7 separate regions of the Homo sapiens genome follow, and regions 2, 3, 4, 5, 6 and 7 are each linked to region 1. Evidence: promoter capture Hi-C in 16 types of primary human blood cells and fetal thymus (Javierre and others, 2016). All regions are on one chromosome and are shown on one strand. The core of a region is centred on a gene start or on the middle of the fragment in contact, and the rest is flanking DNA. Distances in the headings are between cores, read along the strand shown. Region 1 holds the start of IGSF9B (immunoglobulin superfamily member 9B). Region 2 overlaps GLB1L3 (galactosidase beta 1 like 3). Region 3 overlaps VPS26B (VPS26 retromer complex component B). Region 4 overlaps GLB1L3 (galactosidase beta 1 like 3). Region 5 overlaps ACAD8 (acyl-CoA dehydrogenase family member 8). Region 6 holds the start of GLB1L2 (galactosidase beta 1 like 2). Region 7 overlaps GLB1L2 (galactosidase beta 1 like 2).

The links. The method cuts DNA at HindIII sites, captures the fragments that hold promoters and counts their contacts. A CHiCAGO score of 5 or more calls a contact.
Region 2: a contact is called between a fragment that was not itself captured here and the fragment with the promoter of IGSF9B in region 1, in 4 of 17 cell types (activated CD4 T cells, naive CD8 T cells, naive CD4 T cells and 1 more). The highest score is 6.8, in activated CD4 T cells.
Region 3: a contact is called between a fragment that was not itself captured here and the fragment with the promoter of IGSF9B in region 1, in 7 of 17 cell types (naive CD4 T cells, activated CD4 T cells, naive CD8 T cells and 4 more). The highest score is 15.7, in naive CD4 T cells.
Region 4: a contact is called between a fragment that was not itself captured here and the fragment with the promoter of IGSF9B in region 1, in 7 of 17 cell types (non-activated CD4 T cells, activated CD4 T cells, naive CD4 T cells and 4 more). The highest score is 9.7, in non-activated CD4 T cells.
Region 5: a contact is called between a fragment that was not itself captured here and the fragment with the promoter of IGSF9B in region 1, in 7 of 17 cell types (naive CD4 T cells, total CD8 T cells, activated CD4 T cells and 4 more). The highest score is 8.5, in naive CD4 T cells.
Region 6: the fragment with the promoter of GLB1L2 here is called in contact with the fragment with the promoter of IGSF9B in region 1 in 7 of 17 cell types (activated CD4 T cells, naive CD4 T cells, total CD4 T cells and 4 more); the score reaches 14.2 in activated CD4 T cells.
Region 7: a contact is called between a fragment that was not itself captured here and the fragment with the promoter of IGSF9B in region 1, in 4 of 17 cell types (total CD8 T cells, total CD4 T cells, non-activated CD4 T cells and 1 more). The highest score is 10.3, in total CD8 T cells.

What each region holds. Positions count from the first base shown.
Region 1 is chr11:133,954,723-133,958,393 of GRCh38, forward strand. It overlaps IGSF9B (immunoglobulin superfamily member 9B), which reads right to left and starts at 2,246. Exons shown (of 20, transcript NM_001277285.4): 1 at 1,969-2,246. The coding sequence starts at 2,032. RefSeq lists a silencer at 2,075-2,424. The HindIII fragment of the contact is 2,603 bases long and covers 529-3,131 here.
Region 2 is chr11:134,297,684-134,301,287 of GRCh38, forward strand. The region is part of intron 9 of GLB1L3 (galactosidase beta 1 like 3); the gene reads left to right. Among named protein-coding and RNA genes, the nearest start is that of GLB1L3, 23 kb to the left of the region's middle. The HindIII fragment of the contact is 4,912 bases long and covers 1-3,604 here.
Region 3 is chr11:134,235,368-134,239,362 of GRCh38, forward strand. The region is part of intron 2 of VPS26B (VPS26 retromer complex component B); the gene reads left to right. Among named protein-coding and RNA genes, the nearest start is that of VPS26B, 13 kb to the left of the region's middle. The HindIII fragment of the contact is 992 bases long and covers 1,737-2,728 here.
Region 4 is chr11:134,281,273-134,284,848 of GRCh38, forward strand. GLB1L3 (galactosidase beta 1 like 3) reads left to right here. Exons shown (of 20, transcript NM_001080407.3): 4 at 105-173; 5 at 753-848; 6 at 2,465-2,573. Among named protein-coding and RNA genes, the nearest start is that of GLB1L3, 6.7 kb to the left of the region's middle. The HindIII fragment of the contact is 1,534 bases long and covers 1,229-2,762 here.
Region 5 is chr11:134,259,340-134,263,291 of GRCh38, forward strand. It overlaps ACAD8 (acyl-CoA dehydrogenase family member 8), which reads left to right. Exons shown (of 11, transcript NM_014384.3): 6 at 269-406; 7 at 1,705-1,840; 8 at 1,936-2,033; 9 at 2,399-2,551; 10 at 3,181-3,283. Among named protein-coding and RNA genes, the nearest start is that of ACAD8, 7.7 kb to the left of the region's middle. RefSeq lists silencers at 1,242-1,291, 2,794-2,843. The HindIII fragment of the contact is 386 bases long and covers 2,287-2,672 here.
Region 6 is chr11:134,329,679-134,333,237 of GRCh38, forward strand. It overlaps GLB1L2 (galactosidase beta 1 like 2), which reads left to right and starts at 2,310. Exons shown (of 19, transcript NM_001370461.1): 1 at 2,310-2,469. The coding sequence starts at 2,384. RefSeq lists a silencer at 2,160-2,459. The HindIII fragment of the contact is 5,891 bases long and covers 1-3,559 here.
Region 7 is chr11:134,348,239-134,351,809 of GRCh38, forward strand. The region is part of intron 5 of GLB1L2 (galactosidase beta 1 like 2); the gene reads left to right. Among named protein-coding and RNA genes, the nearest start is that of GLB1L2, 18 kb to the left of the region's middle. RefSeq lists a silencer at 1,390-1,449. The HindIII fragment of the contact is 1,324 bases long and covers 1,331-2,654 here.

The sequences.
Region 1 (3,671 bases), core at 996-3,495:
AGTCATATGGCTCTAGACCTAGGTCCTTAACTACCACACACAGAGCAATTGAGGCTAAGAAAGACCCCAAGACCAGCAAGGTCACCCTCTGCTTCCAGACAGGGGTACATGTCCAGCCATTCCAGACAGAAGGACCCCTCTGCACCCTGAAAGAGGGCATAACCTTCATGCCAGGCAGCCTTCAATTTTGGGAAGCCCTTCCTTCTATCTTGCGATTCTGCGTGTTGCTGCAGTATAAACTCACATTCCTTTATTCTGGGCTGAAACTTGCAAAGAAGTCCATTGCCCACCCTGACTTAGGTTCGGAGGCTATTTCAGAGCCTTCCTTCAGCGTCTCTTTTCTATTCAAAGATCCCAGCTCATCCTTTTGTGCTTTCAGGGACAGTCCCATAGCAGGAACATACCAAAAACGGGAGGGGAGGAGGATGCGGGCATTGGAAGACGGCAAGGAAATGGGGGAGAGGATGAGGCTACAGGCAGACTGTCAAGCGCAGCCCGATGCACCTCACATCCACCCCCCGTTCCGTAAGCTTCCGCCATCACCCTTGCCTCAGTGTTCCCACCTGACAAATGAAGAGTTTTAAAACCGTCCGGACCAACATGTCAGTTAACAAAATCACCCTTCGCTTCGCCCTCTGCTCGTTCTGTTTTCAGACACCACCACCCCCCTCAGAAGCAGAGGCGACATATTCATTCCATTCCGGAAAGTTTCCTGAAGCACGCCCCCCTGCACAGACGAGTGACGAGGGGACCCCGTGAGAGGCGCCTCCAGCCCACCCGGCGCCCCATGCCGCTGGGAGAGGGTTCTCTGTCGGCGAGTCCTGCCTGCTGACTCCCACCCACAGCGGGTTCTCTCCCGCCGCCATCTCCTCCGGCTTGGTGAACTTGCCCGCAGCCGGGTCGTGTCTGCGCGCTGACAGCCCTGAGCTCACAGTCCTGGCACCCTCCAGGCTCCGCTCCCACTTCCATACAAGGGCCGAGAGCCGGGGGTGCCACCCAGAGGCTTGTAGGTCGCTCTGCCCATCTCCAAAGCAAAAGCCCGCGCGCTCACGCACGCATCACCCAACTCGGTGGCTCCCCCCTTGCGTCTCCCCCAGCTCAGACCCAGGAAAGCGGAAAGAGAAAATCCCCCCTCCGCTCGGATTCACAGCGTGGGGACCCCCCCTTCCCCGCCCCTCCCCTCCCCCGCCGCCGCCCCCAGCCAGCTCTGCCTCGCAGCCTGGGGAGGGCGGCGTGGGGCCCGCGCGGCTGCGGCGCGCTCCCGGGGAACTTTTGCCTGGCCGGGGCCCAGGTGCGGCTGAGAGGCGCGGGGGCCGGCGGGGTCCAGCCAAAAGCGGACACACCTCGAAGCTGGCCTCATCAATCCTCCTCTCACCGGGCGCCCCTGCTAGGGGGATCCGACCTCCAGCTGCCAAGATGTGTGGGCAGGAGGGGCGCGAGCGGAGCGATGGACGCCCGCAGGGCCGCGCGAACCCGGGGCCTTAGACGCGGGTGCCGCCAGTCCCAGGGATCCTCCGGGTCGCGCCTCCCTGCAGGCGCTCCTCGCGGCGCGGGGCTCTAGCGTGCTGCAGCCTGCCCGGAGACCGCAAACTCCCGCAGCCAGAGTTTCCCGCAGCTCTGGGAGGCGGCCGCCGGGCAGGAGGCGACGGGCTAGGCGCGCCGGTGTGCACCGTGGGGCCCGTGGTGGGCGAAGTCGACCCAGGTTCCACTGCGTCCTTTCCCCGAGTGCCCGGCAGCCCGTGGGCTCTGGCCCCTTCCCGCCCGCCCCTCCAGCCCACGGCCCCCAGGCCCTCCCCGGCAATGCTCCCGGGCCGCCTGGCCCGCGTCGGAGCCCAAGCCTCACCCGCGGGAAGGCGCGCCGGGGAGCTGGGGAACCGGGGGGCCAAGGAGCCGGGAAACCGAGGGGCCGGGCGCGAGGGGCCGAGGGCGCCGGGAGGGGCAGGGGAGGGACGCCGCACTTCAACTCACCTTCAGCCGCAAGCCCTCGGGTGCCGATCACACTTGCTATGAAAGTGGCCACATACCAAATCATAGTACTACCGCGCCAGCCCGGAGCCTCATCCTATCGCAAAGTGCTCCCGCGCCCGCACGCGCCTCGCGCCCGAGCGCCCGCCTCGCGCCCGCCTCGCGCCGCCTACGCCCCGCGCCGGTGCTCCTGCAGCCCGGGTGGCCAGCTCTCCATCCCTCCTAGGCTCCGCTCGGCTCGGCGCGCGCCTCCCCGGCCCCGGCGCAGCGGCACCTGCACTACTCGCCCGGGCGGAGCGCAGCCAGGTCCACGGTGAAGCCTAGCCGGGCCGGGCCTCCGGAACCGCCCCCGCCGCCCGCCTATTGGGCGCCGCCCGCAAGCCGGGGGTCCGATTGGCTCAGCCTTCCGCCCGTCGCGGCGCGAAGGAGGCGAGCCCATTTCAAGGTGCGTTGAAGTGTGGCGAGCACAGAGCCGCAGAATCATGCGCATTGCCGGGGAGAAGGTGGTATAGCGTCTCTGCCCGCTTCTCTCTCGGCTCACACTGCGTGGCAAGTTTCTGGTGAGGGAAATGGTAGCTTCTAACGGGACCCTGGCGGGTCTCAATTACCCCGGACAGGTCTGAGGGAAGTGGAGCCCCCGCCCACTCATGGAACCCAACATCCGGTTTCCATCCGGCAAAAAGCAGTTCCCGAGAGGACCATGCTGATTCTATGATGGGGAAACCCAGGAGCCGGCGGCCCGGGAGAGCCGGGGAACGTCCTTCGCCGGAGATCTTTTCAAAGAGGTCACGCGCCGCCTCCCCACCCCGTCTCCCTCCGCACCCAGACACGTCCCCAGAGCAGCGCACCACCCCCTCCAAACGTGATGCAGACCGGGGGATGACTAAAATGACCTCTCAAAGTCGCTAAGATTTAGAGTGAGTCATTGGCTCAGCTGCGAAGTGCCACAGACCCCTCAGGAACACTCGTGCACACACACTCCACCCCCAGTGCTGGTCACTGCTGCTCATCATTACTGAATCCCGACTCCAAGCAGTCAAAGTTGGGTCTTTTTCCCACTTCTCCTGATAAAGGCTGCTTCCTCACGCACATGGTTCCTCCCCTCTCCACCTTACTCGGAGCCCAGCCCCGACTCGGCCGCATGAAACCAAGATGGGTTTGGGGGAAGCTTTAGGAGTCTGGGATGGAGGAGACCCAGGGAAAGGGAAGGAGCTTCTCATCCTACAGAGGAATGTAAATAGGAAACTGGAAGGTCTTCGTATGTTCCAGTCTCCCTACCCTAGCCTGTCTGCTTCCCCTCCCCCAATACAGTTGTATTTGCAGAAGAAATAAATGAGTGTCATGGAAACATCTACTACAAACAATCACCTCACACCAGCGCTCAGAGGCTGCAGTGAAGATGTTTGTTCTTTCAAGGAGTGAAGGCAGTGGTAAGAATCACACCGCTCCCTGGGATGGGCTGTTGGCCAAGGAAGGAAGGCAGAGGGTCAGCGAGCGAGAGCTCAGGAATTTCATCCTCTCAAAGCACTCGTTAGCCACAAAGCCCTGGCTCCAGGACATGAAGCTCCCAAAACAACAAGAAGGAGACTTGCTTCTGGGAAAGCGTGCACACAGGTACACACACATGCACAAAAAGTGGCCTTGAACACCGGAGGTGGAGCATTCCCTGACACCGGAAGCCTCTTAGCTCACCGCCAGCTGGGAGG
Region 2 (3,604 bases), core at 645-3,144, 340 kb after region 1:
CACCCCATCTCTATTAAAATACAAAAATTAGCTGGGCATGGTGGTGGGTGCCTGTAATCCCAGTTACTTGGGAGGCTGAGGCAGGAGAATCGCTTGAACCCAGGAGGTGGAGGTAGCAGTGAGCCAAGGTCGTGCCATTGCACTCCAGCCTGGGTGACAGAGGGAGACTCTGTCTCAAAAAAAAAAAAAAAAAAAAGAAAGAAAGAGAGAAAAAAATATATATATATAATTTAAAAATTAACCTGACACGACTAATCATACTGAAGTGTAGGTAGTACTAGGATTGTACAATAGTGTCTTCTTAATTCCCCACTCTAAAGATGTCTCTTCATTATTGTTTCTACTTCCATGGTTTCTGATGAGAAGTCAGTATTAATTCTTATCTTTTTTTTTTGTCTTTTATCCTCTGGCTACCTTTAGAATTTTCTGTTTGTCTTTAGTTTTCAGAAGTTTGAGTGTAATATGCCTAGATGTGGTTTGTTTCTTAAAATTTATCCTGCTTGGTGTTCCAGGAGATTCTTGGATCTGTGGTTTGGTGAAATTTACCAAACATTAAGTAAGAAATAATAATAATTCTACACGATATGTTCCAGAAAATGGAAAAGGAGAGAATACTTCTAAACTCATTTTATGAGGTCAGCATTGTCCTAATTCCAAAACCAAATAAAAACAACTAAAGCAAAGAAAACCAAAGACCAATTTCCCTTATGAACATGGAAGCAAAAATTCTCAACAAAGGATGAGCAAATTGAATCCAGCAATATGTAAAATGATAATACATTACTGATATGGTTTGGCTGTGTCTCCACCCAAATCTCAACTTGAATTGTGTCTCCTAGAATTCCCATGTGTTGTGGGACAGACCCGGTGGGAAGTAATTGAATCATAAGGGCCAGTCTTTCCCGTGCTATTCTCATGATAGTGAATAAGTCTCACGAGATCTGATGGGTTTATCAGGGGTTTCCACTTTTACTTCTTTTTCATTTTCTCTTGCTGCTGGCATGTGATAAGTGCCTTTCCCCTTCTGCCATGATTCTGAGGCCTCCCCAGCTATGTGGAACTGTAAGTCCAATTAAACCTCTTTTTCTTCCCAGTCTCAGGTATGTCTTTATCTGCAGCGTGAAAATGGACTAATACAATTACATCCTAGTGAGATTCATCCCAGGAATGCAAGATTAGGTCATTAATTTTGTAGAATTCTGAGCTGTCACTTATTAGATATTTTCTCTGCTCTCTCACCTTCTGCAATTCAAATCGCACGTACATTAGACCACTTAGTGTGGTCTCACAACTCTTGGATGCTGTTTTCTTTCCCACTGTCTTTTTTTCTCTTTACTTTTCAGTTTGCTTAATTTCTACTGACTTATCTTTAAGTTCGTTGATTCATTCCTCATGCCTGTTGAGTTTAGCGATGAGCCTATTGAAGAAATTTTTCGTTTCTCTTGCTATGTTTTTGATTTCTAGTATTTCCATTTGCTTCTTTCTTAGTTTTCATCTTTCAGCCAAAATTATCTATCTGATCTTGCATGCTGTCTTCCTTTTCCATGATAGTCTTAAGTATATTAATCATAGTTATTTTGAATTCCTTGTGAGATAGTTACAACATCTGTGTCTTATCTGTTTCTGATGATTGCTTTATCTCTTCCAAGTGTGTTCTTTTCTTGCCTTTTTGTATGTCTCATAATTTTTTATTGAAAACTGCGCATCATGCATAGGACATAGATACTGTCTTGGAGATCAGCCTGCCTTTCATTCTGCTAGGCCATGTGGGATTTTGTGTTCCCCTCGTCTGGAGTTAGGCTGGTTGTGGGGTTTGTTGTTGCTGTGTTATCCTTTGTGCATCATGGGCTTCAAATGTTTCTGGTGGTACCTTGTGTCAAGGGCAAGTGCTGGTTTGGCAGAGGTTGTTTTCTCTGTGTCTGCATTCCCCTCTGAGTCTCGCCTTTGCATTGAGTCCCACAGAGAATCTGTTGCTTGCGGATCTCTCAGCTATAGTATGTGTTACTTTTTCTCCAGCTTGGTTAGCCTGCTGGTGAGGGAGAAAGGCTTCCCCTGATGTTCTGATTATGCCTTATTGCCAGCAGATGCTGTCTGTGGGTCTGAGGGGTGTGGCCTTTGCAGGTGCTCCTACCCAGCTCTTCTTCTAGCGGCAGATCTGATCCTAGCATGTGTTCCTCCTTTCCCAAGGATAGTGCATCCCCTGCCCCTTTCCCAGATGCAATGGATTTTATCCAGTTAAGATGTCCTTAAGTGACAGCTTCTGTGCTGTTTCTCAGCTGATTGGGGCTTTTGTTCCCTAGAGAAGATGGGCTGGGAGAAGGTCTGGCAGTGGCGGTGGCTCTCTCCCCTCAGCCAGCACCAGAAAGGAAGCTGTGTTACTTTGTTAGGGTTGCCATAGCAAAGGACCATAGACTGTGTGGCTTAAACAGCAGATGTTTATTTTCCCACATTCTGGAGACTACATGTCTGAAATCAAGGTGCTGGCAGGGTAGGTTTCTTCTGAGGCCTCTCTCCCTGGCTTATTGGACGGCTGTCTTCTCCTCCCTGTGCCCTCACATGATCTCTTCTCTGTGTGTGTCTGTGTCCTAATCTCCTCTTCTTATAAGGACACCAGACATATTGGATTAGGGCCCATCCTATTGACCACATTTTTTTTTTTTTTTTTTTGAGACATAGTCTTGCTCTGTCGCCCAGGCTAGAGTGCAGTGGTGTGAACTCGGCTCACTGCAAGCTCCACCTCCTGGGTTCACACCATTCTCCTGCCTCAGCCTCCCGAGTAGCTGGGACTACAGGCGCCCTCCACCACGCCAGGCTAATTTTTTTTGTATTTTTAGTAGAGACGGGGTTTCACCGTGTTAGCCAGGATGGTCTCTATCTCCTGACCTCATGATCCGCCTGCCTCAGCCTCCCAAAGTGCTGGGATTACAGGCGTGAGCCACCGCGCCCGGCCCCTATTGACCACATTTTAATCAAGGCGCCTACAGGCTGTTCTCCTCTGAGGCCTCTCCTTATCTTGCAGATGGTCACCTTCTTAACGTGCCCTCGCATGGTCTTTCTGCCGTGAACACGAGACCCTGGTGTGTCAAAATTTCCTCTTCTTATGAGGACCCCGGTGACATGGGATTAAGACCCACACTAACAGCCTCACTTTTACCTAATTACCTCTTTAAAGGCTCTGTCTCCAAGTACAGTCACATTCTGCAGTACTGAGGGTTAGGCCTTCGTGTGAATTTGGCTGGGGGACGCAATTCAGCCTGCAACAGAGACTTGCCCGGGATTCTCCCGAATCTCCCCTCAGAACAGCTGGTAGACTTGGGGAGTTAAAGCCAGCATCAGGGTGTCAGCCGCCATCCGTCTCGGCTCCCTTGACTTCAGACTCTCACGCTGGCCCACACTGTCTTCAGCACTTCTTTAATATGATCTATTTGTGTTATATTAGAGGATCTAGCCCCAGGTAAGCAAGTGGCTTGGGTCCAGCTTCTTCCTGCAGGCATCAGGTTTTCCATGGATTTTAGGTATTTGGTTGCTCTGTGACCTAGGTTCTCTGATGGACCCAAGAAGCCATGAATTTACAGTTTTTCAAGTTTTGTCCTCGCTGTGAGGA
Region 3 (3,995 bases), core at 983-3,482, 280 kb after region 1:
GAGCATTGTAAAGGGCCGGAAAATAGGAAGTGATGAGATTTTCGCATGTCTTACCTTTGTTTTTAACATGATTCATTTAATTGTGAGTTTATATAATTTAACTTTAAATAATTGCTGTGTTTAACAGCCAGGTCATAAAATTCCTGAAAGTTCAACGTCAGCCACCCCCAGCACACTCCTGCTGGCTGGGTGTCAGGAGATCCTGACCTGCTGTCCGGCTCTGCCACACAGCTGCAGTGTGACCTTGAGCTCTGTAACTCAGCTTTCTCACTTCAAAGTGGGTAATGGACTTGGATTCTAATTCTAGATGTCCTCTTCTTTTGGGGGTGATAAGAAAATAAAGTTCTTAAAATGTGAACACATAGGTACATGGATTGTTTTTACTGTTATAGTGTTGGAAACTCTGAGAATAGAGACTGATGCCAAGGTCTTTTGGGTGAAAAAAAATCTACAGCAGATATAGACTGTTAGGTGTAAACTTGAGGTTATGTGATGCTACTGGGATAAAGCAGTCTCCCCTGTGACTCTGAACACCTGATTCCAGGTCTTGATACCATCTCATAAGATCGGTTTATCTCCTCACCTGAGGACCTGAGTTTAGGATGGTACACACCACAAGACCTTTAACTTCTTTTCTTTCTCTGTCCTCCCTTCTTCCATCAGAAGAGTGAAGGCTCTTTTTAAATCTTTGCAGAGGTGGTGGTTCACGCCTGTGATCCTGGCACCTTGGCCAGGAATTCGACACCAGCCTGGGCAACATATTGAGACCCTATCTCTACGAAAAAAAAAAATTTTTTTAATTTTTTTAAAAGAAAAAAAACAAATCTTTGCAGAGAGGTCTAAGACTGACATTACACCCAGTAAAGACAGTGTCTCATAATCGCACCCAGAGAATGCAGCAACCGCGAGGATCATCTAGTCATCACTTCAGTTTGACCGAGGGATTTATTATTTAATTTTTTTTTCTTTTGCAGTGGATTTGTCTTAAGCGTTTGTACGGCAGAAAGAAAGGTGTTGAAACCAGTATAGCAGTGCCTCAAAAAATTAAACAGAATTACCATATGATCTAGCAATTCCTCTTTTGGATCCAGAAGCGGATCCAAAAGAATGGAAAACAGGATCTCGAACGGATATCTGTACACCCATATTCACAGCAGCATTATTCGCAATAACCAAAAGGTAGAAGCAACCCAAGTGTCCATCAGTGGGTAAATGGACACAGGAAATGTGTTTTGTCCGTACAGTGGACTGTTATACAGCCTTCAAAAGGAAGGACATTCTGTCCTATGCTACAACATGGGTGAACCTAAAGGACATTGTGCTACGTGAAAGAAGCCTGTCACAAAAGGACAAATACTGTCTGATTCCATATATATGAGGTACCCAGAGCAGTCAAATTCATAGAGACAGAAAATAGAATGGTAGAGGCCCAGGGCTGAGGGAAGGAGGAAATGGGGGTTGGTGTTTAATGAGTAGAGTTTCAGTGGCGGAAGGTGGAAAAGTTCTGGAGACTGATGGTGATGTTTGCACAATACGAATATCATTAATGCCACTGAACTGTATAATTAAAAATTGTTAAAGTGGTAAATTTTATGTTATACGTATTTTGCCACAATAAAAGAAAAGTGTTAATGTCCAAATCACATGAAGACTTTAGGATTCATGTTGCGAAAGAGAGGAGGTAGAGATAGGAAAATTAGTTGAGGACAGTTTAAAGATGTAACTTCCAGATTAAAAGCTTTTTCTTATTACACAGGCAGAGGGAAAACATGAAAAGATTATTGTGGACTTTTCTTTTGTCTTTAGGCAGAGAAAAGGTTATTTTGGAAGATTGGAGTCCATATGTAGCATTTGGTGGATGGGAAGAGTGTAGAGACAAAACTATCAGAAGGCTATTGTGAGGTCCTCCGAGTATGATTTTGGTGGCTGTAATGGGAACAAAGAGAAAGTGAGGAATGTAACAGACACCAGCAGAGATTACCAGTGAGTGCAGGCATGCAGCCGTGGAGATGGAGACAGAGGGCTATCAGGAGGAAGAAATGATCTGGAGATAAGGTGATTCATCCAGCTCTAGAGGGCAGGCTGAAATACTGGCAAAATAGAGAAAGCATAAAAGTTTAGCAGACAATTGGAAGCGCAGACCTGGCACTAAGGACAGAGGGGACACTTAGAAATGTGCAGTCAGGACTGATCTGCTCAGAGGTCATAACTGATACGTTTTTGAAGAAAGGGAGCACAAGGAGAGGAGAGCCAGGACCCACCAGGGCATGGCAGGAGGAGGAGAGGGGGGTGAATCAGGGCAGCGCCTCTGTGGAACCGCGGGAAGAGTGTTTCAAGGAAGAAGTGTTTCACGGGACGCAGAATCAAGGGCTGCTGGATTTGGCAGCTGGGAGGCCATGGGTTACTGACCTCGAGGCGAGCGGTTTCTGTTGGGTGGTGGAGACAGAAGCAAGGGGTTGGGAGGAGTGGTTCGTGGAGAAGCCTCAGCTGTTGGTGCAGAACCCGCCTTGTGACAGTTGTCTCTGAAGAAAGGAAAAGAAAGTATGGTAGGTCAAGAGGGTAAGGCCTGGAGAGGGTTCTTGGGATTGGTGACTTTGGAAACCAATTTTTTAATAAGCTCAGAGGAAAAGGCCTTTAGCTAGAGGGAGATTGATGATCTTGGGGAAATCAGAATATGTAGAAGGATCCAGATGCCGGACCAAGGCTTCCACATTAGAATCATGTGGGAAGCTTTTTAAAATGCGAATGCCTGTGTCCCTTTCCAGACAATCACATATCAGGTGTGCCCAGGCAGCAGGATTCTTAAGGGCTCTCCTCTCCTGGTGATTTCATTGTGCATCCATATGGAGAGTTCTTGGGCCGGAGTGGGGAGGAGAGGTCTTGAGAGGGAGAGGTGCTGTTGGAGACAGGATGGGTGAAAATGCAGAGACATGTTTAGGCCTTAAGTAAGGAACAAAGCAGAGGAAGGAGCACATTGTAAGTCTTGACTGGGAAGGCCTTCATCTTCTTAGTGGAGTAAAAGTCAGTGTCTTCCCAGACAGCGGGGTGGGGAGACTTGGGAGGCTGAGCAGTTAGAAGAGGGCTAGGGACAGGTGTCTTGGGCAGTGTGATGGTTACTGAGGTGAACCGAAAGGATCCCCAAGAAGCAGCCAGTGCCACACAGAGGATAGTAGCCGAAATGTGTAGTTGGTATGGCTAGCATATCTTTATGTATTTATTTATTTATTTTTATTTGATTTTATTTTTTAGACGGAGTCTCGCTCTGTTGCCCAGGCTGGAGTGCAGTGGCTTGATCTCGGCTCACCGCAAGCTCCGCCTCCTGGGTTCACGCCATTCTCCTGCCTCAGCCTCCCGAGTAGCTGGGACTACAGGCGCCCGCCACCACGCCCGGCTAATTTTTTGTATTTTTAGTAGAGACGGGGTTTCACTGTGTTAGCCAGGATGGTCTCGATCTCCTGACCTCGTGATCCGCCCGCCTCTGCCTCCCAAAGTGCTGGGATTACAGGCGTGAACCACCGCGCCTGGCCATATCTTTATAACTTCATCTGGTAATGCTTGACAGATGGTGGGGATTATCTAAGTTTTATTTAAAAGAAAATACAATTTATTATATTACATTAGATTATATTAAAATAATGTTTTATGGAGAAGGAAATACAATTAAAGAGCTCCTCCTCATTGAGTGTTAGCACAGTGCTAAGTGCCGGGGATGACAGTGCTGCACTGGCGGGCCACAGAGGGCAGCTTGTTAAACCCTTCAGGGCTGTGTCTCTGTCTTCTCTCTCATCCCCTCCACAGCAGCGTCCTCCCCAGGGATCCTAGGTTCAGCCAGAGACTTGTTATTCAACAGACCAGGTCCTGTCTGCCCCTGTGGCATATAAGGTTTGCTCTCCTGGAATGCCCTTTTCTCCCTCCACACAGCACTGGATCGCAGCATCTCAATTAGCCCTTTCCGTGTGTTCCCATTTCTCTATTTGCCCATCTCCCCCGGTGAA
Region 4 (3,576 bases), core at 746-3,245, 330 kb after region 1:
AAAATAGAGCTATGCATGGTTTTGGCTTGGATTTGGGGCAGACCTAACAATTTGGAGGAAGAAATAAGAAGATACTCATCATACTTCCCTCTCACCTCTTCTAGCTATGTTCCGTGGAACCTGCATGAGCCAGAAAGAGGCAAATTTGACTTCTCTGGGAACCTGGACCTGGAGTATGTGGTGTTGCTGCTTCTGTGCCCTGGTCAGGGGCAGGGCACAGAGGTGGCTACTGGGGGTGGATTAGCAACCAAAGAGAACCAGGGAGGGACGTGGGTCTGGAGTCCTGTTCTAGGACTGTGAGAGGCCCTGCACCCAGGACCCAGACGCTCCCCAACCGTGACCTGTCACCCAGAGGGACTGGGCCTGCAGCCTCCGGGCCCCACCTCTCCACTGCAGCCCAGAGGGGCAGAAGACCCTGGGAGCCGCCCGACTCTGCATGGGGTCTGGCGCCTGGGCTGGGGCAGGGCGGCCCCTCTAGGCTAGCAAGGCTATGGGGTCAGGTTCACTGTTGAGACCACTGAGCCCTGGGTGTCACCCTTCCTCCTCAGGCCCCCGATGGGGCTGTGCAGAGGCTCTGAGGCTGGGAGCAGCTCAGGCCACCGACCTGGTGTGGGAGTCCCCACGCTTTGGGGGTGGGGCCGAGCCGTCCCTTCGCCCCACCAGGCAGCTCCTCCACCCTGTGATGCGTGTGGCCCCCACCCGGCCTCATCCTGGGCCGTCGTGGGAGGGGCTGACGATGTGGACCTCCCTAGGGCCTTCGTCCTGATGGCCGCAGAGATCGGGCTGTGGGTGATTCTGCGTCCAGGCCGCTACATCTGCAGTGAGATGGACCTCGGGGGCTTGCCCAGGTAAGCGGGGCTACAGTCCCAGAGTCGTGGTTCTAGTGAAGTATTTGCTTTAAAAAAAGTGAATTTCAAGCTAGTAACAAGGAAAGTAACCTTTATTCACGGAGCCGATGGGAGGTGTGCTGCCCCACGCCACGCACCGTGCCTGTGTTGTCTTGTGGGAAGCCTGCGGTACTGCGGTGGCGGGGGGCGGGGTGCAGTTGTCATCCCCGATTCACAGATGAGAAGCTCCAGACGTTGGTCCTGGGGCCTTGGGCATGCGGTCAAGAGGGTGTGCGCGGGGAGAGGTGGCCACAAGAGGCTCCCACTCTTCTTTCCCCATGCAGGAGGGGCTGTAGCCTCCTCTGTCCTTCTCAAAATGCCCTGGGAAGAAAGGGACCAGAAGCTTTAAGGCCTGCAAGGGAAGGTTCTGACGACTCGGCTTGTTTTGAAAACTTCTGATCTTTCGCTTATTTTGTGAGGGGAAGGCTTGCCTTTCCATGCAGTGAGACCACCCTCAGCTCCCCTCCCTTCCCTCTTGCTTTTCTTTGCCTTGTTCTCTCCTCTGTGATTCTGGCCCCCAGCCCAGACTGCTGAGGGTCAGGGTGAGACTCCAAGACTCCTCTCTGCCACCCCTGTGGTGGGCAGGGCTTCCTGGGGAATCTGGGGCTCTGCCTCCAGTGAGCACCTCTGCACCTCAGAGTCAGATGAGGCCTTTGCTTTTCTCCAGGATGAAGAGAGAGGTCTTTGCTTTTCTCCAGGGGCAGAGAAAGCCTGAGCTGAGGGGAGTGGAGTTTTCGGGAAGCAGTGACTCCCGGCATAGCTTGGCTGGAGGCCTGCCTGGCACTTCCCCAGTGACCTGGAGTGGGTGGAGTATCATTGGCACGTAGGCTCCTGCCCTGAGCCTGAAGCCTTAGCCCTTAGTGGAAATGTGACACTGTGCCTAAGGAAATTTTTTCTGTCCCCAAGAATTTTTTTTTTTTAAGACGGAGTCTTGCTCTCGTCACCCAGGCTGGAGTCCAGTGGCGCGATCTCGGCTTGCTGCAACCTCTGCCTCCCGGGTTCAAGCGATTCTCCTGCCTCAGCCTCCTGAGTAGCTGGGATTACAGGCGCCCGCCACCACACCCGGCTAATTTCTGTACTTTTAGTGGAGACGGGAGTTTCGCCACGTTGGCCAGGCTGGTCTCGAACTCCTGACCTCAGGTGATCTGCCCACCTCGGCCTCCCAAAGTGCTGGGATTATAGGCATGAATCACCGCGCCTGACCAAAAAATGTTTTCAATAAACTGAAAAAGAATAGAGAGTGTTCACCAAAAGGTAGAAGAAAAAGCTCTTTAAGACATGGCTGTAAGAGCCTTGACAGGCCAGCCCCTCAGTCAGACCAAATAGAGCTGAAGGCCTTTCCGAAGTTGTGAAGTGCCTTGGAGGTGGAGGCGGCCGTTTCCTTTCAAATCCCACAAGTCTGTGAGAATGGTCTGAAAGTCTCACGCGGCACAGATCTTTCCAGGACCCGAGTGCTCCGGGACCGGGGGTGTGAGGCAGCTGGGCAGATGTGCGGCGAGCCGGGGCAGCTCTGAGCCCACTCCTGCTTCCCTCTCCCAACCCGTCTCAGACCCTGAGCCCGCCCCTCTTGCCCCCAGCTGGCTCCTGCAAGACCCCCGGTTACTGTTGAGGACAACCAACAAGAGCTTCATTGAAGCAGTTGAGAAGTATTTTGACCACCTGATTCCCAGAGTGATTCCTCTCCAGGTAAAGCCAAATTGTCCCCTGCATCTTTCTTACGTGCCCTTTAGGGAAAGAGTTTGTTCTGGCTTGATCACTGAAGAGGCCACATGCAGTCTCCATGAACAATTGAGTTGACTTTCTTGTAACCTTGAGTTCTGGACCCTTGGCTTGAGGACAGAAGCACTGACCTGTCCTGTCCTTGTTGTCCGGGTAAGCTTCCCCAGGGTTGCTAGAAAGACTCATCACACAAGGCAGGGACTGGTTGTCCACATGAACTTACTATTCCTCAAGCTTGCCAATCTTCCCATTGCTTCTTTCCACTTTTGACATGGCAAAAAGACTCAGAAGGTACAAATGAATTTTTGGTCAGATAAAAATCTCACCTTCCACCCTGTCCCAAAGCCATTTAGTTGCCCTTTCAGGAGACAACCAATTTTACTAGATTTTGTGTCTCTTTTTAGAGATTTTATCAGCACAGAAGCAAATTATACACACGTGTCTATGCCTCTCAGGCATTTTTCTTTTGTTACTTGAAATACGTAGATTTGAAACCAGCCACTCTTTTTAGTGCCTGCACACTGTTCCCTAGTAGGGATGTATCATAATTCATTTAACAGGTATTCAGTCCAGGCTTGGTGACTCATGCCTATAATCCCAGCATTTTGGGAGGCCGAGGCAGGGGGGTCACCTGAGGTCAGGAGTTCGAGATCAGCCTGACCAACATGGGAAACTCCATCTCTACTAAAAATACAAAAAAATTAGCTGGGCATGGTGGCACATGCCTGTAACCCCAGCTACTCAGCTGGCTGAGACAAGAGAATCACTTGAACCTGGGAGGCAGAGATTACAGTGAGACAAGATCATGCCGCCACACTCCAGCCTGGGCAACAGAGTGACACTCTGTCTCAAAAAACAAAACGAAACAAAAAAACAAAACTCGGGAATTCATATCCTATTCATGGACATTTGGATTTTCCATTTATGTTGTAAAAAAATAACTTGCACCCCCCATTCCGTGTCTGTGTAA
Region 5 (3,952 bases), core at 1,230-3,729, 300 kb after region 1:
GCGACCTTTTACCTCACCTCAGTCTCTGTGCCATTGGACCTTATTGTCAGTCTCTGTGCCATTGGACCTTATTGTCAGTCTCTGTGCCATTGGACCTTATTGTCAGTCTCTGTGCCATTGGACCTTATTGTCAGTCTCTGTGCCATTGGACCTTATTGTCAGTCTCTGTGCCATTGGACCTTATTGTCAGGAGGACCCAGTGGTGTTCCCAGACGCTGTGAGAACTCAAGCATTCCCTGGTCCTTTTGCACCCCTTTTACCCCCACAGGCCTTCATCAGTGGTGCTGGTGAGTCAGACATCTATGTGGTCATGTGCCGAACAGGAGGACCAGGCCCCAAGGGCATCTCATGCATAGTTGTTGAGAAGGGGACCCCTGGCCTCAGCTTTGGCAAGAAGGAGAAAAAGGTGAGTGGCTGTTGGACAGGAAACAATTCAGGTTATGAGACTCTGCCACCTGCCAGCCCAACTCCTGCTCTATTTCAGAAAACAGGTTTGCATACTTGCTAACCTACCTTTGAAGCAGTTGCTTCTATTAGGATTTTCAACAGGAGCATATGAAATACAACAGGGCATTATTAAACACTAGGCCTCTGGGGAAAGTGACAATGTTTGCCAGTAAATTCTTCAAGCCACCTGTGAGTGTTCTGACCTCTCCTGCCTCTGCTTTTGGCCTGTGTTCCTTATCCAGCTGCTTACGTTGGTGCACTTTGTTGCTCCAGGAAGAGACGCTTAGAGAAGACCTGGTGTTGGCCACAAGTCTCAGTAATGGAAGGCGTGTGGTCCCTTTTGCTTCTTTGATTAAAAATAAAGTAAAACTCATTGGAGATGATTGTGGGTATTTCAGCAACCCAAGAAGGACACTTAGGTACTGTAAGTAATTTGAAAAGTAAGATACTTCTAGGATTAAGAGCCGCCATGGCCAGGGCATGAACAGGAGACTTGTGATCATGTAACCGTAATTGGTAATAAGGGCTCAAGACCCATTCAGATTTTTTAGACCAGATGCTCAAAGCAGTCATCTCTCTCTAGTTTGTACTGTTATGGGGGGACTTTGTGAGAGAAGGCAGGTAATGAAATGACCCCTAAGTGTACCTCTTTCTCACAGCTCCTCGGGTTTCTGTATTTTCCTACAGGATCCTTCCTGATCCTCTGTAACTGTAAGGCATTATGCATTTTAGCATCCCCTTCTCTTTGGTAACACAGCAACCATTTCCTAGGCTTCTACTGTGTGTGAAGCCCATGCTAACTCCTGGGCAGGAAGACCTTCAGTAAAAGGCTTAGAAATGGAGTTTATCCTATCAACAAAAGAGAGCAAGGAAATGATGTAAAGGCAGTCTATTTTCAGAGCCAGAGAGGAACTGGGAGATTGTAGATAGTTTGTGGTTTTCAATTAGAGGCACTGAAATTGGGGGCAGTTGGTGTCACAATCCTAAAAGAAGTTGTGAGAAGTGTTTGTAGGTTAGTCAGGTAGAGTAGACATTAGTAGATTCTCTTAATAAGTTAGAAAATGTTTAGCTGAAACAGGTATCTTTCTGAGTGCTGACAGGCCTTTAAACCTGAACTTTTTCTTTTTCCTCATTTTAAGTTCTTGTGGGTCTAAGTCTTGGGTGCTGAAACCCATACCTCACAGGCTCCCGTCCCCAGGGAAGGCCGCCCTACCTGCTGGATTGTTGGGCAACCACGCAGTCCCTGATTTTTGCCAGGTGGGGTGGAACTCCCAGCCAACACGAGCTGTGATCTTCGAAGACTGTGCTGTCCCTGTGGCCAACAGAATTGGGAGCGAGGGGCAGGGCTTCCTCATTGCCGTGAGAGGACTGAACGGAGGGAGGATCAATATTGGTGAGATACGCAGGGGTGTGGCAGGGAGGTAGCGGTCCGGGACAGGCACTGCTGTTTTCCAGCTTGGTTGGAACGTCGGCGCTCTTCCCCTCTAGCTTCCTGCTCCCTGGGGGCTGCCCACGCCTCTGTCATCCTCACCCGAGACCACCTCAATGTCCGGAAGCAGTTTGGAGAGCCTCTGGCCAGTAACCAGGTAACCTCTGCCTTGCCTCCACATGGCTTTGCACTATTTGCAGCCCGGGACCTGCTCTAGGGCCCACATTTCCAGGAGAGAAGCCAGGAAATTCCTCTGTCAGTCCCACCACTGTCCTAGCCAGAGCTTGTGCTTTATTTCTGTCCATCTTTTCTTGGGATATCTTTAACGATATTAAAGTGTCGGGTGAGTGAAGTGGACTTAGCACTTAAAAGCAATAAATTTCCTCTATAGAAAAAGCAAGAGACTTTGAAGCTTTGGATCACTTAGAAAAGGCGCCTCCGAGATGTCTTACCGAGGCTCCTGCACCAGGTGCTGGTCTAAGCCCCTCAGTCTTGTCTGGTTCTCTGCTCCCTGTGCTGCAGTACTTGCAATTCACACTGGCTGATATGGCAACAAGGCTGGTGGCCGCGCGGCTGATGGTCCGCAATGCAGCAGTGGCTCTGCAGGAGGAGAGGAAGGATGCAGTGGCCTTGTGCTCCATGGCCAAGCTCTTTGCTACAGATGAATGCTTTGCCGTAAGTGATTCCTCTGGCTCTCCTGGGATGGACAGGGAACAGCTGCTAGGCCCAGGGGTCTTGAGAGACATGAGTCAGATTTGGAACCCAGCCCTCCTGGAATCCCACAAGGATCACCTTAAGCTTAAGGATATAAATGAACTCATGAGCGGCCTATGTGGGAGCTCTCATCGCTGGCTTTTAGGCCTGCTGCATGCCATTATACACTTCATTATGTCACTGTTGTTTGGTTGTGTTCTAGGCGAGAAACCACCTTTGGAAGGTTCACAGCAGCCCCAATTTAGCACTCTGCCATGTTTACATTGTCAGGCTGCATTGCCACTAGGGGGAACCATAGCTTTTTATCATCCCAGCCAGGGTGGCTGTGGGCAGCTTCTGCCTGGCAGGTAATAAGGGAGAGGGGCAGAGGGCTTTGAGTCGCCTGTCTGGGGGGAACTGACAAGTTTAGTAGGTGAACTTCCCTTGTCTCTAACCATACAGAATGTGGAGGCCCTCTTTGAGCTTGGCTGTTTGTGGTTCTTTCATGGGTTTATGGCGGGCTGCCAGATCGTGGGCTGGGGTAGGAAGGGAAGCTGCTTGCTCCACAGTCTTCCCAGAGTCCAAGACGTCTAGTCCCTGTCTCCCTGCAGATCTGCAACCAGGCCTTGCAGATGCACGGGGGCTACGGCTACCTGAAGGATTACGCTGTTCAGCAGTACGTGCGGGACTCCAGGGTCCACCAGATTCTAGAAGGTAAAAATTGCCAGAGGTTATTCTCTTCCCTTCAGAACGGGGGCGGGATCGCTGCTTTCCCCACTCTCTGTCCCCATGCCTCCTGGGCCTCAGGGTGCAGTCAAGCCCTGTCTGTCTCGAGGCTTCCTCCTCCCTCCCGTTCCGCAGAGCTGTTCTGGCAGGGGCCTGGAGTCCAGAGCCGCAGCTTCGTCCCTTTCGGGGGGCCTCAGATCGCTCTGCTGCTGCCCTTTTCCTCTGGAGATCTGCGAGAAGGGTGAACTGAGATAATGGATGAGAAAGCATGTTGAAAACCACAGCCGGGGCTTTTCTCTAAGGTTATCGAGTACGTGGTTCTCAGGGATCCAAGAACAGTGATGGACAAGGCAAATGTGAGCCAGTATGGTCATCAGTAGCTCTATATTGATTATCAGCCAGATGGCCTAAAAGATACCTGTCTCAATATTACTAGTGTATTTTTCAATAAAATAAACCATCACTATATGGGTATCTTCTTGGTAGTCACAGACATTCTATCGAGGAAACATGGAAGCCGTTGGGGTCGGGCTCGGAGCCTGGCTGTCTCCACTCTCTACAGCCAGTGCGGAAGTCTTGAAATGACACGACTCTTGGAAAAGCAGGAGGGGCAGAGGCTTCTTTGAGTGACTTCGGTGAAGCAACGTGAGGCTGCCT
Region 6 (3,559 bases), core at 1,060-3,559, 380 kb after region 1:
TCGGCTCACTGCAAGCTCTGCCTCCTGGGTTCACGCCATTCTCCTGCCTCAGCCTCTTGAGTAGCTGGGACTACAGGCGCCCGCCACTACGCCCGGCTAATTTTTGTATTTTTAGTAGAGATGGGGTTTCACCGTGTTAGCCAGGATGGTCTCGATCTCCTGACCTCGTGATCTGCCCCCCTCGGCCTCCCAAAGTGCTGGGATTCAGGCTTGAGCCACCGCACCCGGCCTAATGTTTTAAAAAACAAAAGTCTCAGGCTGGAAATGGTGACTCACGCCTGTAATCCCAGCCCTTTGGGAGGCCGAGGCAGGTGGATCACCTGAGGTCAAGAGTTTGAGATCTGCCTGGGCAACATGGTGAAACCCCGTCTCTACTAAAAATACAAAAATTAGCCGGGGAAGGTGGTGGGTGCCTGCAGTCCCACCTATTCGGGAGACTGAGGCAGGAGAATAGCTTGCATCCCGGGAGGCATTGCAGTGAGCTGAGATTGCACCACTGCACTCCAGCCTGGGTAACAGAGTGAGACTCTGTCTCAAAAAAAAAAAAAAAAGTCTCAGCCTATGAGCAAGACGCATCTCGGGTTAGTGCTAACTTTGTAGCATTCTGTGGTATCATTAAGCCCAGATAAAGTAAAATTGTTCCTAGACTGTGAGCAGGGTGTGTCCCTAGTTCTGAACATCCCACAAGGTTAAGGGGAAATTTTTTTGAAAACACTCAGTTATGTATATTTTTCTCGCACAAATAAAAACGAAGGATACAAGGGTGGGCCAAGGAGTTCACGGTTTTCACAACCCATGTTAAGTTTTTGCTAACGTTTGAAGAAAAATGGAGATGCTTGTATTGCTTAAACCATTTGAGAATTCCCTTATATTTGATAGATTCTGCCACTGTTCAACGTGACCAGAAGTGAGAGGATGAATGTGGGGTGCATGTCTTTCGGATGGTCCCCTGCAGGCAAAGGGGCTAGCCTTTGACAATTTCTCCACACGCTTCGGGGCTAGCTGGTATATTCCAATTAAACCAACATGTTTCCATCACAGACTTCATAGCCATCAAGCAATCATAGCCTTACCCAATGGAGAAAAGGAGCGGGCTTGGAGCGCGTCCACGGGAGTGGGCCTCCCTCTGCGCGCCTCTGGGAATGTTTGCGGTGCTTAAGTCAGACCCGGATTGCTCCAAGCCCAGCTTATCCTCCCCAGTTCTGCCAGGGTTTTTTTCCTCTTGTTTGTTCGTTTGTTTTTGCCTCTCTTTGATTTAACTTTTGCTCCTTGACTAAATATGTGCTTAACGCTAGACAAAGGACACTTCATACCCAAGTCTGTGTCTTTGTTCCAAGATCTGCAATTTCATTTGGTTCCTGTCGGCTTTACAAGTTCAAAACTATGCCCCCGTTTAGGAAATGAATTCAAAGCATGCGGCAAGGGAGACATTCGACAAACCCGGATGCTCTGGAAAACGTTGCCCTTCCTCGAGTTTCTTTCAGTAAAATCTGAATTTTGTTCCCGGGAGGAGTTGGGTTTGTGATTGCTACAGTGTAAGTTGCACCGAAATACTACATCATGTTCTTTGGGACATACATTCTGTTTCAGAATAAGAATGATATTCTTCCTTTCCTAAAATGTGAGAGTTTTATATGGACCTTTTTAAAATAAAAAATTGGAAGCCCTTGGAGTCAAGGCCAGAGTAAGACTCGCAGAAACCAAAGACAGAAAATATTTGGAACCCCCCCTCCTCAGACATGAACCACACTGAAATGTGTCCAGATACAATTCTTCAAAATCCTGGCTTTTCACAGGATGATTTGTTATTGAAAAAGTTGTTTGCTTCAGAATCTGAATTGTTTTAAAAGATTCTGTTGGTTGCCCCTGCTTTGCGGACGCCTTTTGTACGTTCTTCCTGATGTAGCGCTGCGAGGGGCGACTTTACCTCGGCGTTTGACAGGTACGCAGCATTCCCGCACCCGCCTGCGCCTCGCGAGCAGAAAGACGGCGGACTCTGCACCGCTCCACGACACTGGGGACCCGCCCCGGCCAGACCCGTCCCCTACCGAGACCTTGTCCCCGCCCCGCCCCCGGCCGGGGCCCCGCCCCGCCAGCCCCGCCCCCGCCAGCCCCCTCTCCTACCGAGACCTCGTCCCCGCCCACCAGCCCCGCCCCGCCCCCCCCCCGACAGAGGCCCCGCCCCGGCCCCGGCCAGCCCCGCCCCCGCTTGCGCGAGGCCTAGGGCTGCAGGCGCGGAGCCGCGAGCCCCAGCCAATGAGCGCCGGCGGGCCGGTTGCCCAGGCGACCAGTGCGCGGCTCCGCCCCCCGCGGCGAGGCTCCCGCGCGCGGCTGAGTGCGGACTGGAGTGGGAACCCGGGTCCCCGCGCTTAGAGAACACGCGATGACCACGTGGAGCCTCCGGCGGAGGCCGGCCCGCACGCTGGGACTCCTGCTGCTGGTCGTCTTGGGCTTCCTGGTGCTCCGCAGGTGAGAGAGAGCTTCGCGCAGCACCTGCCGGACCCCACATTCCCCAGCCCTCCGCACCTCGGGTTCTCTCCTCCCGCGACCCGCGAATCCCGAGTTCCCGGGGGGAGCAGCCCCAGCTGCTTCTTTCTGGGAGCTCCCCAATACCCCCGAGTTCCCCTGCGGCTGCAGGCACTCTACTCCTGCCGCGCGATCCAGGCCTCTGGGCGACACCCGGCGTGCCCTCGGGAGCCGGCGTCTGTGCCCCGAGCCGCCCACCCCGCCGCGCCTGTGACGCCGGGCTCTGCCCCCCGTGGACGCCCGCAGCCCTCCAGCCGTCAGAGCCCTCTCAGACGCACCCCATCGCGGCCCCGTCCCCACTGCTCCGCGGAGAGCTCCCTCTGCCCTTCCCCCAGGCCCCCCTTTTCCTCCCAAGCCTCTGGGAGGCGCCTTATTCCGCAGAGGCCGGCGCTTCAGCCTGGCAGGTATGGTCTAGCCAGCTGGCCTGGCAGGGTCGTAAGAACAGTGTCCGTGGGCCTCCAAGATCCCGGGCCATGATTTATTTGCACAGTAGGACTGATAGGTCGTCTCTCTCCACTTTCCCACCATTCACCTGTTACCAGCTCACCCTTTCCTCTCCCCCTTTTCCAAATGTTGTTTATGGCAAAGGAGTGGCTTCAGTGATACTGTGATTTACCCACAGCCTGTGAAAAAGTTTTCTGGGTGCCCTAGCCCAGCATTTTTCTAAACTGTGCTTATTTTAAGGATTCTACAGCCCTGACCCTATCTTTCAGGTCAGCACTTTCCATATTCAAAACCTCCAGTGGGAAGCCGACCGGCAGTATCGAATGAACTGAACGGTTGGAAGTGGTGGCAGGCCCTACGCCGCTCGGCTTTGTCATTTGCTTCTTTTTTACTTAGAGAAACTAAGTTCTTAGTTTCTCTGCACTTCCCCTGGGAGACAGGGAAGTTTTTGATGGAGATAAATATCTGGAAGTCCTTTGTGGCCAGAAGAACACACTGACAAACTCTATGTTTACACCTTGTCAAGACTGGATTCTTGTTTCTGAGATAGTGGGGACGTCATGATATTGTTTGGGAGAAGGACGGATTT
Region 7 (3,571 bases), core at 743-3,242, 390 kb after region 1:
TTTTAGTGTAAATATATTCCAAATATTGCATGGGTCATACTTACACTAAAAAATTATTTGTTGTGAATTCAAATTTAACTTTATGTCTGGTATTTTTGTTTACTAAATCCGGCAGCCTTAACCATGACAGAAGCAAGGAACTAGGAAGTCATTAGCCTAGATCTTGCTGGGAAGCTGGGGATCAGCAGGTTGTAGGAGTCGGGTGGGCAGCAGGATGGCCGTCCTGGGAGCAGGCTCAGAGGCACTTGCAGACGTGCAGCGGGTCACCAATGCATCTTTTTGAAATAAACGATAACATAATTATTATTATTTAACATATTTAAATAATCACATAGTTATTTAATTTTTGTGACTATGGGATAGTATACATAACATAAACTTTGCCATTTTAACCATTTTGAAATGTACAGCTCAGCGGCATTGAGTCCACCCACACTGTTGTGTGCTCATCTCCACAGCCTTAGTTCAGGCTGCCACAACCAAACACCTAGACTGAGTGGCTTACAGACAAAGAAATTCATTTCTCCCAGTTTTGGAGAGTGGGAAGTCCAAGAACAAAGCACTGGCAGATTCGGTGTCTGGAAGGGCCCCCTTCCAGGGCATATACGGCCATCTTCTTGATGCAACCTTACATGGCAGAGAGCGTCAGAGAGCTCCCTGAGGTCCCTCTTATAAGAGCACTAGCCCTGTTGGCAAGGACTCTATGCTCATAACTAATCACCACCCAAAAGTCCCACCTCTGAATACCGTCACAGTGGGGGTTAGGATTTCAACATGTAAATTTTGGGAGAACACAGTCTATTGCAACCACTGTCTATCTCCAGTCCTTTTCTGTCTTCCCCAATGTAAACTCTGTGCCGTTAAACCCTCCATTCTTCCCTCTCTCAGCTCCTGACAGCCATTCTACTCTCTGTCTCCATGCATTTGATCATTTTAGCTACCAAATATAAGTGAAATCACATAGTATTGTGACTGGATTATTTCACTTAACAGCGCCCTCAAGGTTCATCTGTGTCATAGCCTGTGTCAGAATTTCCTTCCTTTTTAAGACTGAATTATGTTCCATTGCATGTATATAACACGTTTGTTTATCCTTCATCCATTGACGAACGTTTGAGTTGCTTCTGCCTTTTGGCCACTGTAAATAAAGCTGCTGTGAGCATGGGTGTACAAATACCTTTCTGAGCCCCTGCTTTCGCTTCTTTTGGGTATATACCTAGAAGTGAAATTGCTGGATCAACTTGTCATTCTACATTCAGTTTTTTTTAGGAATTGCCATACCGTTTTCCACAGAAGTTGCACCAAATTACATTCCCACCAGCAATACACAAGCTTTGCAATTTCCCCACATCCTTGCCAACACTTGTTATTTCCTGTTTATCTGGGGAGAGCCATCAGTGGGTGTGAAGTGGTATCTCATGGTGGTTTTGATTTGCATTTCCCTGGTGATGTTGAGCATCTTTCATGTGCTGATTGGTCTTTTGCATATCTTGGAAGAAATGTTTATTCAAGTCTTCTGCTCATTTTTGAATCTAGTTGTTTGTTTTTATGTTGTTGATTATAGGAATTCTTTTTACTTTCTGGAGATCAATTCCTTAACAGGACCTGCCAGGACTGGGTCCTTCGCTTCAAGGCAGCAGGTTCCCTTTTGGCTCAGGGTATGTCTAGAAGTGTCTGGAAGCTAGGGCCTGGAACGAGGGCCTCTTGACTCTGCCGGCGCCCTTTCCTACTGTGGTTGAGCTGGATCCAAGATGCAAGACAAAGTCCTCTTTACTCTTTGCTCTCCTCTCCTTAAGCAGAAGGAAGGAGCCACTTTCGTTGCTGTGAGCTGCGCTACCTGGGCTTGGGGGAGGGATGTGCAAGAACTCCCTTAGCCATGCCAGCTGGTGGCTCCTTAGGCCATGCGCTGTGCTAGTACACTGGCTGTAAGCTCATCCTAGCTCCAGGAGTTGCATAGGAATTGCGGTCTTTGTGTCCTAGACTGCCTTTCATGTTTACCTAGGACTCCAGAGCACTTCAGCCCATGGTGGTGAGGCTTCCCAAGAAACTCAAGTTCCAATCACTAGGGTGGGCAGTTCCTCTCTGGCTAGGGCTGGTCCAAATGCTCCGTCTACGTGGATGCTGGCTGAGCTCAGCATGGCTTTATCCTGTGCTGTGACAAGGCAGCACTGAGTTCAATGTAAAGTTCCCCAGTCACTGTGCTCTCCCTTCCCCAAATGCACAGATCCTCTCTCCTCACCACTTGGCTGCCGCTGGGAGATGGGAGAGGGTGGCATCGGTGGTGTAAGGCTGTCTCTCTTGCCTGCCTTAATGCGTCTTTTGGTGATATGAAGTTAAAACCAGGTACTGTGACGGGTCACTTGAGTTTCGGTTTTTGTCATGGTGCTTTTCTGCGTGCAGATCACTGTTAAAATTTCGTGTTCCAGCAGGACGGATGAACGGTGCAGCCTTCTATTCCTCCATCTTGCTCCACTGTCTTTTATTTTCTTTTAGTATTTTGTTTGTAATGTACAATCAGTGTACAAATATTTCACCTCCTTGATTAAATGTATTCCCAAGTATTTTGTTGTTTTTGATGGTGTCGTAAATGGAATTGTCCCCTGATGGTGGATAAAAACAATGCATTTTTGCACATTGATTTTTTTTATCCTGCAAGCTTACTGAATTATTAGCTAGATAGTTTTTTTTAGGGGTGTGGGGATGTGCACTGTTTTCTGCATTTAAGATCATGTTGTCTGTGAACAGAGATAACTTCTTCCTTTCCAACTTGGTTGCCTTTATTTTTTTCTTGACTAATTGCTCTGGCAGGACTTCCAGTACCGTGTTGAATAGAAGTGCTGAAAGCACGAATGCTTGGTTTGTTCCTGATCGTAGAGGAAAAGTTTTCAGTCTTTCACCAGTGAATATGATGTTGACTGTGGGCTTTCTGTATGGGGCCTTTACTATGTTGAGGTAGTTTCCTTCTGTTCCTAGTTGACTGAGTGTTTTTTATCATGAAAGAATGTTGAATTTTATCACTTTTTTCTGCATCAATTGGGATCATCATGTGGTTTTTCCTCTTAATTTTGTTAATGCGGTATATTACATTGATTGATTCTTTTTCTTTCTTTTTTTTTTTTTTTTTGAGATGGTGGTTCCCTCTTGTTGCTCAGGCTGGAGAGCAATGGCGCTATCTCAGCTCACTGCAACCTCCTCCTCCCAGGTTCAAGTGATTCTCCTGCCTCAGCCTCCTGAATAGCTGGGGTTACAAGCACCTGCCACCATGCCCAGCTAATTTTGTATTTTCAGTAGAGATGGGGTTTTACCCTGTTGATCAGGCTGGTCTCAAACTTCTGACCTCAGGTGATCCACCTGCCTCAGCCTCCCAAAGTGCTGGGATTATAGGCATGAGCCACCATGCCTGGCCTACATTGATTGCTTTTCACATGGCAAATCATCCTCGCATTACAGGAATGAATCCCATTTGATCATGGTTTATAATTCTTTTAATATGCTGCTGAATTAAGTTGGCTAACATGTTGTTGAGGGTTTTGGCATCAGTATTCATCAGGACTGTTAGTCCGTGTTTTCT